Linked DNA regions of Homo sapiens: all the other regions are linked to region 1. Evidence: promoter capture Hi-C in 16 types of primary human blood cells and fetal thymus (Javierre and others, 2016). All regions are on one chromosome and are shown on one strand. The core of a region is centred on a gene start or on the middle of the fragment in contact, and the rest is flanking DNA. Distances in the headings are between cores, read along the strand shown.

Region 1 (2,896 bases), core at 263-2,762:
AAATTAACCAAAATGACCGATTTCCTGTTTAACTTGAATATGGATTCATTTTCTCTTTTAAAACGGACTTAACATGTCTTTTCTTTCTTGTTTTGGGTAACTTGGGCACTTCTGGTCTTTTTAATGCTAGCTAATTTTCACGAGTTCTGCTTTAGTTCTTATCAGGGCTGAAAATGTTTCCCAGTTTTCATTCTCCTGGTTGTTTAGTGCCTAAGGGTAGAAAAACAATTCTCTGGGCATCTATATAGTTAGGCCCCAACTTTTATTTAACTTGAAATCTTAAGCTTTTCTAAGAAGCTAAAAGTTCATATATATATATATATATAATATACATTATATATTAAATATATAATATATATATTTTTGAGACGGAGGCTTGCTCTGTCGCCCAGGCTGGAGTGCAGTGGCGCGATCTCGCCTCACTGCAAGCTCTGCCTCCCGGGTTCACGCCATTCTCCTGCCTCAGCCTCCTGAGTAGCTGGGACTACAGGCGCCCGCCACCACGCCCGGCTAATTTTTTTTGTATCTTTAGTAGAGACGGGGTTTCACCGTGTTAGCCAGGATGGTCTCGATCTCCTGACCTCGTGATCTGCCCGCCTCGGTCTCCCAAAGTGCTGGGATTACATGTGTGAGCCACCGCGCCTGGCCAAAAGTTCATATTTTTTAAAGACTGACAAGGGTAGGCGGTTCTGGGAAGCTGTCCTTCAACTGACCTGACCCGAAGGCAAACGGCCCTCCGCGAGGAATGCACCTACCACAAAGCACCCAGAGGACACCCAAGTCCCAAGGCTTCACCCACCTTACTCCTAGCCACTCCACTCCTAGATATTTATTTAAGAGAAATGAAGACACAGGTCCCACAAACGCCCACGAATTTTCATGGAAGCATTTTTCCTAATGGTCCTAAACTGGAAACAACCAATGGATACACAATTTGTGATACTATTCAACGATTAAACAAACCACATGGTCGAGTCCAAAGCATAGAGTGAAAACCCCTGAGACCACATGCTCATTCATAAATTCTAGAAAGCACCCTGTTTATTTGAAATTCCGGAAAAGGCAAACCTAACCTACAGCAATAGTCATCGATGAGATGCGGGCGTTAACTTCAAAGGGGCAGCAAGGGGAATTTTTGGGGCGATGGAAATGTTGTTTTGAGTAGTTACTCCTGTGGATGCCTTTGTCGAAGCTCATCTCAAACTATGGACTGGCAAGATGTGTACACTTCATTGTATGTAAATTATACACTAAACAAAAAAGTTGTAGGGAAAAAAAAAAAAAAGCAAAACAAGCCCTGAGACTTACTGAAGCGTTTCTTTCCAGGAAAGCCTGGAGGAAGGCAGCGCTTTTCAACTCCCCAGCGCATTGCCGGCCCTGGAGACCGAAGGAGGTGCCTGGAACCAGGGTGAAGTCCAGCGCGCAGGGTCCTCCCGCGCCGGCCTCGGGCGCTCGCAGGGGGCGGGTCGGGACCTGGGATTGCGCCGGGCTCTTCCTGTTCCTGCCGCGCCCTCTTCCCCGGCCCGGCCGGGCGGGACCAGTGCGCAGCCGGGGCTGGCGGGCGGCGGGGTCCGCGGGGCCGCAGGAGATGACGGCCGGCGGCCAGGCCGAGGCCGAGGGCGCTGGCGGGGAGCCCGGCGCGGCGCGGCTGCCCTCGCGGGTGGCCCGGCTGCTGTCGGCGCTCTTCTACGGGACCTGCTCCTTCCTCATCGTGCTTGTCAACAAGGCGCTGCTGACCACCTACGGGTGAGGCGGGGCCCGGGGCCGGGGGGTCTGCGGGAGTGCGGGGCTGCCCCTGTCCTCCGTGCGCTTCAGCGGCGCCCGGGACAGGGCGGGTGGGGACAGGGACCCTCGAGTCTCAGCTGGGCACATTGGTCGAGTTTCCCAGGCGCCCTCCAGAACTCGCTCAGCTTTCTACACTCAGGCCACAACCTGAGAAAGTCGTTCTCTTCCTGAGCGCGCCTGCCCTGCTGCGAGGCGCCCTGTCCTAGGTGGGCTGGTAGAGCTCAGACAGATTCTTTCATACACCCAGCGAGCTGAAAACAGGGATTCAAATGCCTGCTTCAAAGGACGCAATTCCTTACACAGATCTCCATGTTCAACGGTCAGGTACTCCTGAGCCAGTAAGTCTGTATTGATTGACTGTTCATTCTCAGATGACCAGCGTGTTCATGGAAAACTCGGGAAAACAATTGGAAGTTCATATGGAGTACTTTTTTGGATTAGTGTGAAGTAAACGCAAATTTGTGCTGCCTTGAACCTATTTGTAAGGACTAGAAAATCCTGCTTAATTCTGCTACCATTGTAGCGGCACTGAGAAAATTGTGGATTTAGACCCAGCTCCACCGGTTAACACCTGTCTTTTTGGACCAGTCTCACAGTCAGCAATTTTTTTCAGATGCAAAAAACCTGAATGATTACAATCGTGTTAATTACCCTCCAGGGCTCTGCACGAGCTGTTATATGTGAAGGCTCTTTGTAAACTCTACTATGTTACAAGAATATGCCATCAACATTTTAGAGCCCAAAGAGACCTAGAGTGTCTTAGTTAGAGAGTATCTTAGAGTATCAGCTTTCTTTTTTTATATATACATACAGATTCAGCTTATGTGGGTCTCACTTTTCTCGAATATAAAATACGAAAGCTGAGGCTGGCTGAGGTGGTTTGCACCTGTAATCACAGCATTTGGGAGGCCAAGGCAGGCATATATATATATATATATATAGTGTGTGTGTGTGTGTGTGTGTGTGTGTGTATAATATTTTTTTGAGACAAGGTTTCACTCTGTTGCCTAGGCTGGAGTGTAGTGACACAATCATGACTCACTGCAGCCTCGACCATCTGGGTTCAAGCAATCCTTCTGCTGCAGCCTCCAGAGAAGCTGGGACCATAGGT
Region 2 (3,057 bases), core at 437-2,936, 1.0 Mb before region 1:
ACAGTCTCACCGTGCAACTACCAAAGACGGAGGCTGTGTGCCACCAAAGGGCCCTGGATTGGGGCACAGGAGATGTGAGTGCTAATCCAGCTGGCCCCAGGGGCAATTCCCTATACCCAGAACAGTACTTTGCACGTAACTGATGCTCAATGAATGTCAGCTGAGAGGAAATGCAAAAATATCCACCATGTGCCCATTTATATTATATAGTAAACACAAAGATCTTTGTGTCCCTGCCCTCAAAAAACTAAAATCCAATTATGTAAAACATGGACCGTTTGTTGGGAGGAAGAGAGTGAATACTGCTTGGCAATTATTATGAGGCAAAGGATATACAGTGGTTATCTTGGAAAAGCCTTGCAAAGTAAGCCAGGTACCTCTATTTGACACATAGAAAACCAGGCTAAGAGAAAGCATGTAATTTGTTCAAGATCACACAATTTGTAAAATGAGAAGCCCAGATTTCAATCCAGGTCTGCAAAGTTCACATTATTTGCAGTATGCAACACATTCATACACATCAAGGCAGCCCAGGACGAGACAGGGATTTGGGTCCAAGTTTTACTTCTGCTATTAAGCTGTTGCCTATCTCTCTAGAGAGAACATTTCTCTGCATTTTTTTCACCGGCACGATTGGAGAGCAGAGAGGTGTTGGTAGGAGGGTTAATGAACTAGATCTGTGGTTTTTTGGTTTGGTTTGGTTTGGATGGGCGGTGATCAGAATTCTTCTGGGCCAGGACTTGTTCTAATGTGGTTGTTTCCCTTCCCTGCTCTTAGAAATTATTTGAGAATGGTACCTTTAGCTATTAATGGAAATATACCTCTCAAGTGAATGGGAGCAGAAAGATATGCCGGCTCCAAGCTCCCTCCTAGCAAGCTGAAGCTGAGAGTCTGACCCTGCTGAGGGGATGCTACTGAAAGTTGAGAGACAACTTACTCACGGATCCATGTTTCCCTCCCAGCTGGGTGCTCTGTACCCACTGGGTGCTCCTCGTTTGAGAGAAATGGGGATGTGTGTCCTGCATTACTTAAGCGGCCTGCCTGGGGCTCGTCTCCAGATTATAGAGACCTTCAAGAGAAGTTCGTGGTGTAAAATACTTGGGTTCAAATAGGGGAGCGCGGACATCCCTCGCTGGGGGCGGCGGCTGCGGCCTGTCGCGCCGGTAGCGGGAACCACTTCCTGGTCCGCATCTCCCGCCCGCGTCCACACCCCGCTGCTGCATTTCCCCCACGGCGCAGAGCTTCCGAGGCGGCAGGAGGCTCCGTCCGACTCCCGCGTGAACGCCCGGCCCGGAGCAGGGTCCCTTCAGAGATTTAAAACACAACGCTCTGGAACTCCAACTCCCCCGGCGCCCAGCCCGGTTCCCAGGCGTCGGGGCGGGGGCAATCCCCTGCGGCTGCAGGGAAAAGGCCCCGAGCCTGTTGGAGCCCCCGGCCCTGGCCGCGGTCCCACCGGTGACCCAGGTGCGCCGCGCCCGCCCGAAATCTCGTCCGACGTCGCCCGGCACCTGTCGCGCCCGGAGCCCGCAGGACCTGCACTCACCTCGTTCCGGGGGCCCACGGCCCGTCCCCGCGTCTCTGGGCCCAGCTCCTGCCGCCGTCTCCGCCAGGGGCCCCGCCGCGGCCGCCGCCCACTTTCGGTTTCCCCGCACCACCGGAGCCGCCCCGCGGCTTGGGAATCACCTCAAGCCCCCGCCCCGCCCTGCTCGGCCCCGCCCCGCTTCGCCCCGCCCCGCTTCGAGGGCAGCCTGGCCTCGGCTCTGCGCACGCGCGGGCGCTCCGGCCGCGTCGGCCCACGCCGGCGTCCGCGCGTGGGAAGGGAAACCGTCGCCACCTAGCGGTTTCTGCGCGTGCCCACGCACCGGCCGGCGGCGGAAGACGCCTGCGGGGCGGGTGCGGGAGCGCCTCCTGGTGGACAACGCAGGTACGCGCGGGCCGAGCGAGCCGGGACTCAGCAGGGGGCGAGGGTGGCTCCTTCTATGGGGCTCACCCTCCTTCCAAACAGTTCAACTCCTGCACATTATTTTCTTCAACATCTGGAGCAGTTACTTTTTATTGCCCTAGACACACACTCTGTCCGCCCATATCCTTCAGGCCTTTCTCAAGCATTACCCTTTCAATGACGGTGGACACAGTCTCTAACATGTCAACCTCCTTCCTTGACTTTCCCTATCCCCATTCTCAACCTTATTTCTCCTTAGCACCTATCTAGCACACTATATGTATTTTACTTATGCTTTTATTGTCTGCTATCCTTCTAAAATTAAAGCTCTGTGAGCACAAGGATTTTTGTTTGGTTCCTTAACCTATTCCCAGAGCCTAGGATAGTGCCTAGCACACGATCAGCAATAAATATCTGTCAAATTTATTCATTCACTCTAAAGTTATTGAACACCTAATAAGTGAATACTTATTTATTCTGCACATTAATTCCACCAACACTTATTGGCACCTGCTTTGCATCCCTGCAGCCAACATTGAACACTTCTCTGCACCATTGGATATGCATTTACTGAGAACCTGCTGCTTATTCAACCGGTATTTTATTACAGCTTGACTGCCATGTATAAGACATACAATAAACTGAACGTTTAAAATGTACAGCTTGATAAATTATGCATTTACTGAGAACCTGCTGCTTATTCAACCGGTATTTTATTACAGCTTGACTGCCATGTATAAGACATACAATAAACTGAACGTTTAAAATGTACAGCTTGATAAATTATGCATTTACTGAGAACCTGCTGCTTATTCAACCGGTATTTTATTACAGCTTGACTGCCATGTATAAGACATACAATAAACTGAATGTTTAAAATGTACAGTTTGATAAGTTTTGATATATATATATCACTGTGAGACCATCACTGCAATCAAAATCATGAACATATCCATCACCCAAAAAAGTTTTACTGTGATCCTTTGTAATTCTTATATCTTGTCCCTCCCTGTCACTTGCCCCCTCAACTGCTCACCTGCTTTCTGTTGCTATAGATTATTTTGCTTTTTCTAGAGTTATATGTAAAACTTTTATGTATGGAATCGTATGTACTA
Region 3 (3,139 bases), core at 316-2,815, 1.1 Mb after region 1:
AACAATCAAAAAGCACCGACTTCCTTAACTGGCATGGAATAGTTTCGAGAATGGATGTAAACACCGAATTCCTTAATGTAGTTGCAGATTCTGCCAGTTTTGTCTCAACCTCTGGATCGGTTCCTTTTTTTAACTACCTTTAATTCTTAAACAGATTGTTGCTATTGCTATGCTATATACTTATTGTATCACTTATAAATGTATAACCTCTGCAAATTAGTCTCTGAATTGAAAGTATTCATTGGTAAAACGGGTATTTCTTCACCATAGGAATAGTTGGACATGTTTAAATACTTGAGAGCTATTTTTATTACAAGCACACACAGCTTTGTGGTGTTTTTTGTTGAGACAGAGTCTCGCTCTGTTGCCCAGGCTGGAGTGCAGTAGTGCGATCTTGGCTTACTGCAACCTTCGCCTCCTGGGTTCAAGCAATTCTCCTGCCTCAGCCTCCTAAGTAGCCGGGAGTACACACTAATTTTTGTATTTTTAGTAGAGACGGGTTTTTGCCATGTTGGCCAGGCTGGTCTCAAACTCTTGACCTCAGGTGATCCACCCGCCTCAGCTTCCCAAAGTGCTGGGATTAGAGGTGTGAGCCACCGCGCCCGGCCTGTAGTGTGTTTTTGAACGTATATGTGAAGTTGTAGCTTTTTTTTTTTTTTTTTTGAGACGGAGTCTCCCTCTGTCGCCAGGCTGGAGTGCAGTGGCGCGATCTCGGCTCACTGCAACCTCTGACTCCCTGGTTCAAGCTATTCTGCCTCAGCCTCCAGAGTAGCTGAGATTACAGGCGCCCGCCACCGCGCCCGGTTAAACGTTTTGTATTTTTAGTAGAGACGGCGTTTCACCATGTTGGCCAGAATGGTCTCGATCTTCTGACCTCGTGATCCGCCCGCCTTGGCCTTCCAAAGTGCTGGGATTACAGGCCTGAGACACAGCGCCCGACCTAAGCTGTAGTTTTATGATTATGATTTATGGTTGTGAGGCATTGATTTAAGACATTTTAAAGCTTAAGTCGTCAGATCCTAGAAGAAAAAAAAATTCACCAAGACAAGCTAATGCCATTGTCATAAATGGGAGTTTGGAGAAAATTTTATTAATATTTGTTTGGGTGGTTTATGTACAGCGTTGAACTGATTTGAACCCCGACCAAACACTGTATGGAACTAATGTACGGTAGGGGAAATCATTAACTGAAGATGCCTTTTTTGTTGCTATTGTTTAGAACGCAGTTAGAAAATCTTATTTTAGAGGTTTTACCCCGTTGACAAAGCCTCAACTTTTCTTCAAAAGAACTAATTTCCATTTTACCTCCCCTACATTTTGAACAGAATATGGAAGAAGCCAGCGCCCCTTCTCCGCGGGCGCTGCTGCAACCCTGCTCCCGCCGGGGCTTCCGCGCGAAACCGGGAACACTGGAGCAGTACCGACTCCGCTCGCCTAGAACCCGCCCCAGCCGGGCCCACTTCCGCCAGAGCCCTGGCCGCGCCCGCCCCGCCCCACGGACCCGAGATTCGTCGGAATTTTCCCGCGACGCCGCGGGAGCGCGCGGGGCCGCTAGCCAGGCCCCAGAATGCACTGCTGACACGTGTGCGCGCGCGCGGCTCCACTGCCGGGCGACCGCGGGAAAATTCCAAAAAAACTCAAAAAGCCAATACGAGGCAAAGCCAAATTTTCAAGCCACAGATCCCGGGCGGTGGCTTCCTTTCCGCCACTGCCCAAACTGCTGAAGCAGCTCCCGCGAGGACCACCCGGTAAGCGGCAGGCCGCAGAACGCAGCGAGGGCGGAGGCTTCCCTCGGGGGTCTGGCCGACACGTCAGCGGCGAGAGCGGGAGGAGGAGGCGAGGGGCAAGAGGGAAGGCTCGCGAGAGCGGGTGGGCCAGGCGCGCCTTGCGGTGGGCGAGAGGGGTTCCCGCCGGCGCAGGGCTGTGGCTAAGGCTGAGGCGGGAGGCGGGAGGCGGGAGGCGGAAGGTGGCGGGCGGTGCCAGCCCGCGGGGCGGGGCCAGGGCGGGGAAAGCGGGGGCGGGAGCCGGCGCTGGGGTCGCGCGGAAGGGAGCCCCCGGAGAGGCGGGAGCCGGGTGTTGGCGTTTTGGTTCTTTTTGTTCATTGAGCGCAGGCAGCTATGTCTTCTTCAAAGGAGAGGAGCAAAGGTGAATTTCTCTGCCTCGGACTCGTGGGAGCCGTGAAAAGCTCGCCCCTTTGAGCCGGTCGCCCTCTACAGCTGGCCTCGTCCTCCCCGTCCCTCACACCCCTGCCCCCAAACCCCATTCGCCGGGGCGCCAGGAGGGGCGAGGTCCAATTAGAGGAGCCCGGGGCGCGGCTGTTACCCCTCCCGCCCTCCGCCTTTTATTCCCGGAGGGAGGCGGGTTCGCAGAGGCCAGTGTCTTCCCTCCATTCTTTTTGTGGACGCCAGGCCATATCTTCAAAGCCCGTGAGAGATTTTTCAGGTGCTGTTTGTTGGTTTGCTCTTTTTAATTTTTTAGGTGGGTGCGTTTACAACTACGAACCCTCTATGATCTTATGTGTCCAGCGCACCGAATGGGGGAAAAGACTTGGAGTTTTATAACATGGGAAATTGGGTACCAGAATCTTAAGGGAAGAGACCAAGGAGTTTTCTAGCAAAGTCCTGTATGTGCCTGGACTTTTGTTCTAATCTGAAACTTGGAAAACTCCCGGGCATCTGATTTTATTCTAACTTGTGCCCCATTTAATGCATCTAAACTGTGATGTGATTTGACTTAGCATTTATCAAATGAGCAGAGCACTTTTGGGCCACCCAACTTCAGCTCTTTGTGGCTGTCACTCACTGTCAGTGATATGCCCTCAGACAGATCGTTTTCTCCTTACTCCCCTGAAAGGTTGTTACAAACAGTAGAATTCATACCATGTGTTGAGATCATTCATTACCTAAGCTTAGATGGAAAACATGTTCATTGCGACTTTATACATTAAACTTGAATTGATGTTTCAATGTTATGTGCTGTACCAGAGTCACCTGGAAATAAGCACTCATATACATTATTCATATACAAGAAAGGCTGCATCGAAAAAGAATTTGTTTTCCTAGATATATCAGAGATCTTTTTCACCAACCCACTACTCCCAGTAATAGAGCCTGCTTCTTGAGAACTGGACTAATTATAC

Evidence for each region. The method cuts DNA at HindIII sites, captures the fragments that hold promoters and counts their contacts. A CHiCAGO score of 5 or more calls a contact.
Region 2: a contact is called between the fragment with the promoter of TDRD7 here and the fragment with the promoter of SLC35D2 in region 1, in 1 of 17 cell types (neutrophils). The highest score is 6.0, in neutrophils.
Region 3: a contact is called between the fragment with the promoter of FANCC here and the fragment with the promoter of SLC35D2 in region 1, in 3 of 17 cell types (M0 macrophages, M1 macrophages and naive CD8 T cells). The highest score is 12.6, in M0 macrophages.

What each region holds. Positions count from the first base shown.
Region 1 is chr9:96,382,327-96,385,222 of GRCh38, reverse strand. SLC35D2 (solute carrier family 35 member D2) reads left to right here and starts at 1,512. Exons shown (of 12, transcript NM_007001.3): 1 at 1,512-1,746. The coding sequence starts at 1,589. It overlaps SLC35D2-HSD17B3 (SLC35D2-HSD17B3 readthrough), which reads left to right and starts at 1,512. Exons shown (of 26, transcript NR_182427.1): 1 at 1,512-1,746. RefSeq lists silencers at 1,524-1,853, 1,864-1,913. The HindIII fragment of the contact is 17,441 bases long and covers 287-2,896 here.
Region 2 is chr9:97,410,725-97,413,781 of GRCh38, reverse strand. TDRD7 (tudor domain containing 7) reads right to left here and starts at 1,686. Exons shown (of 17, transcript NM_014290.3): 1 at 1,544-1,686. RefSeq lists enhancers at 840-1,099, 704-1,203, 1,204-1,705 and silencers at 1,041-1,335, 1,420-1,629, 1,650-1,999. The HindIII fragment of the contact is 7,534 bases long and covers 1-3,057 here.
Region 3 is chr9:95,316,135-95,319,273 of GRCh38, reverse strand. It overlaps FANCC (FA complementation group C), which reads left to right and starts at 1,565. Exons shown (of 15, transcript NM_000136.3): 1 at 1,565-1,748. RefSeq lists a silencer at 1,894-2,213. The HindIII fragment of the contact is 1,904 bases long and covers 1,006-2,909 here.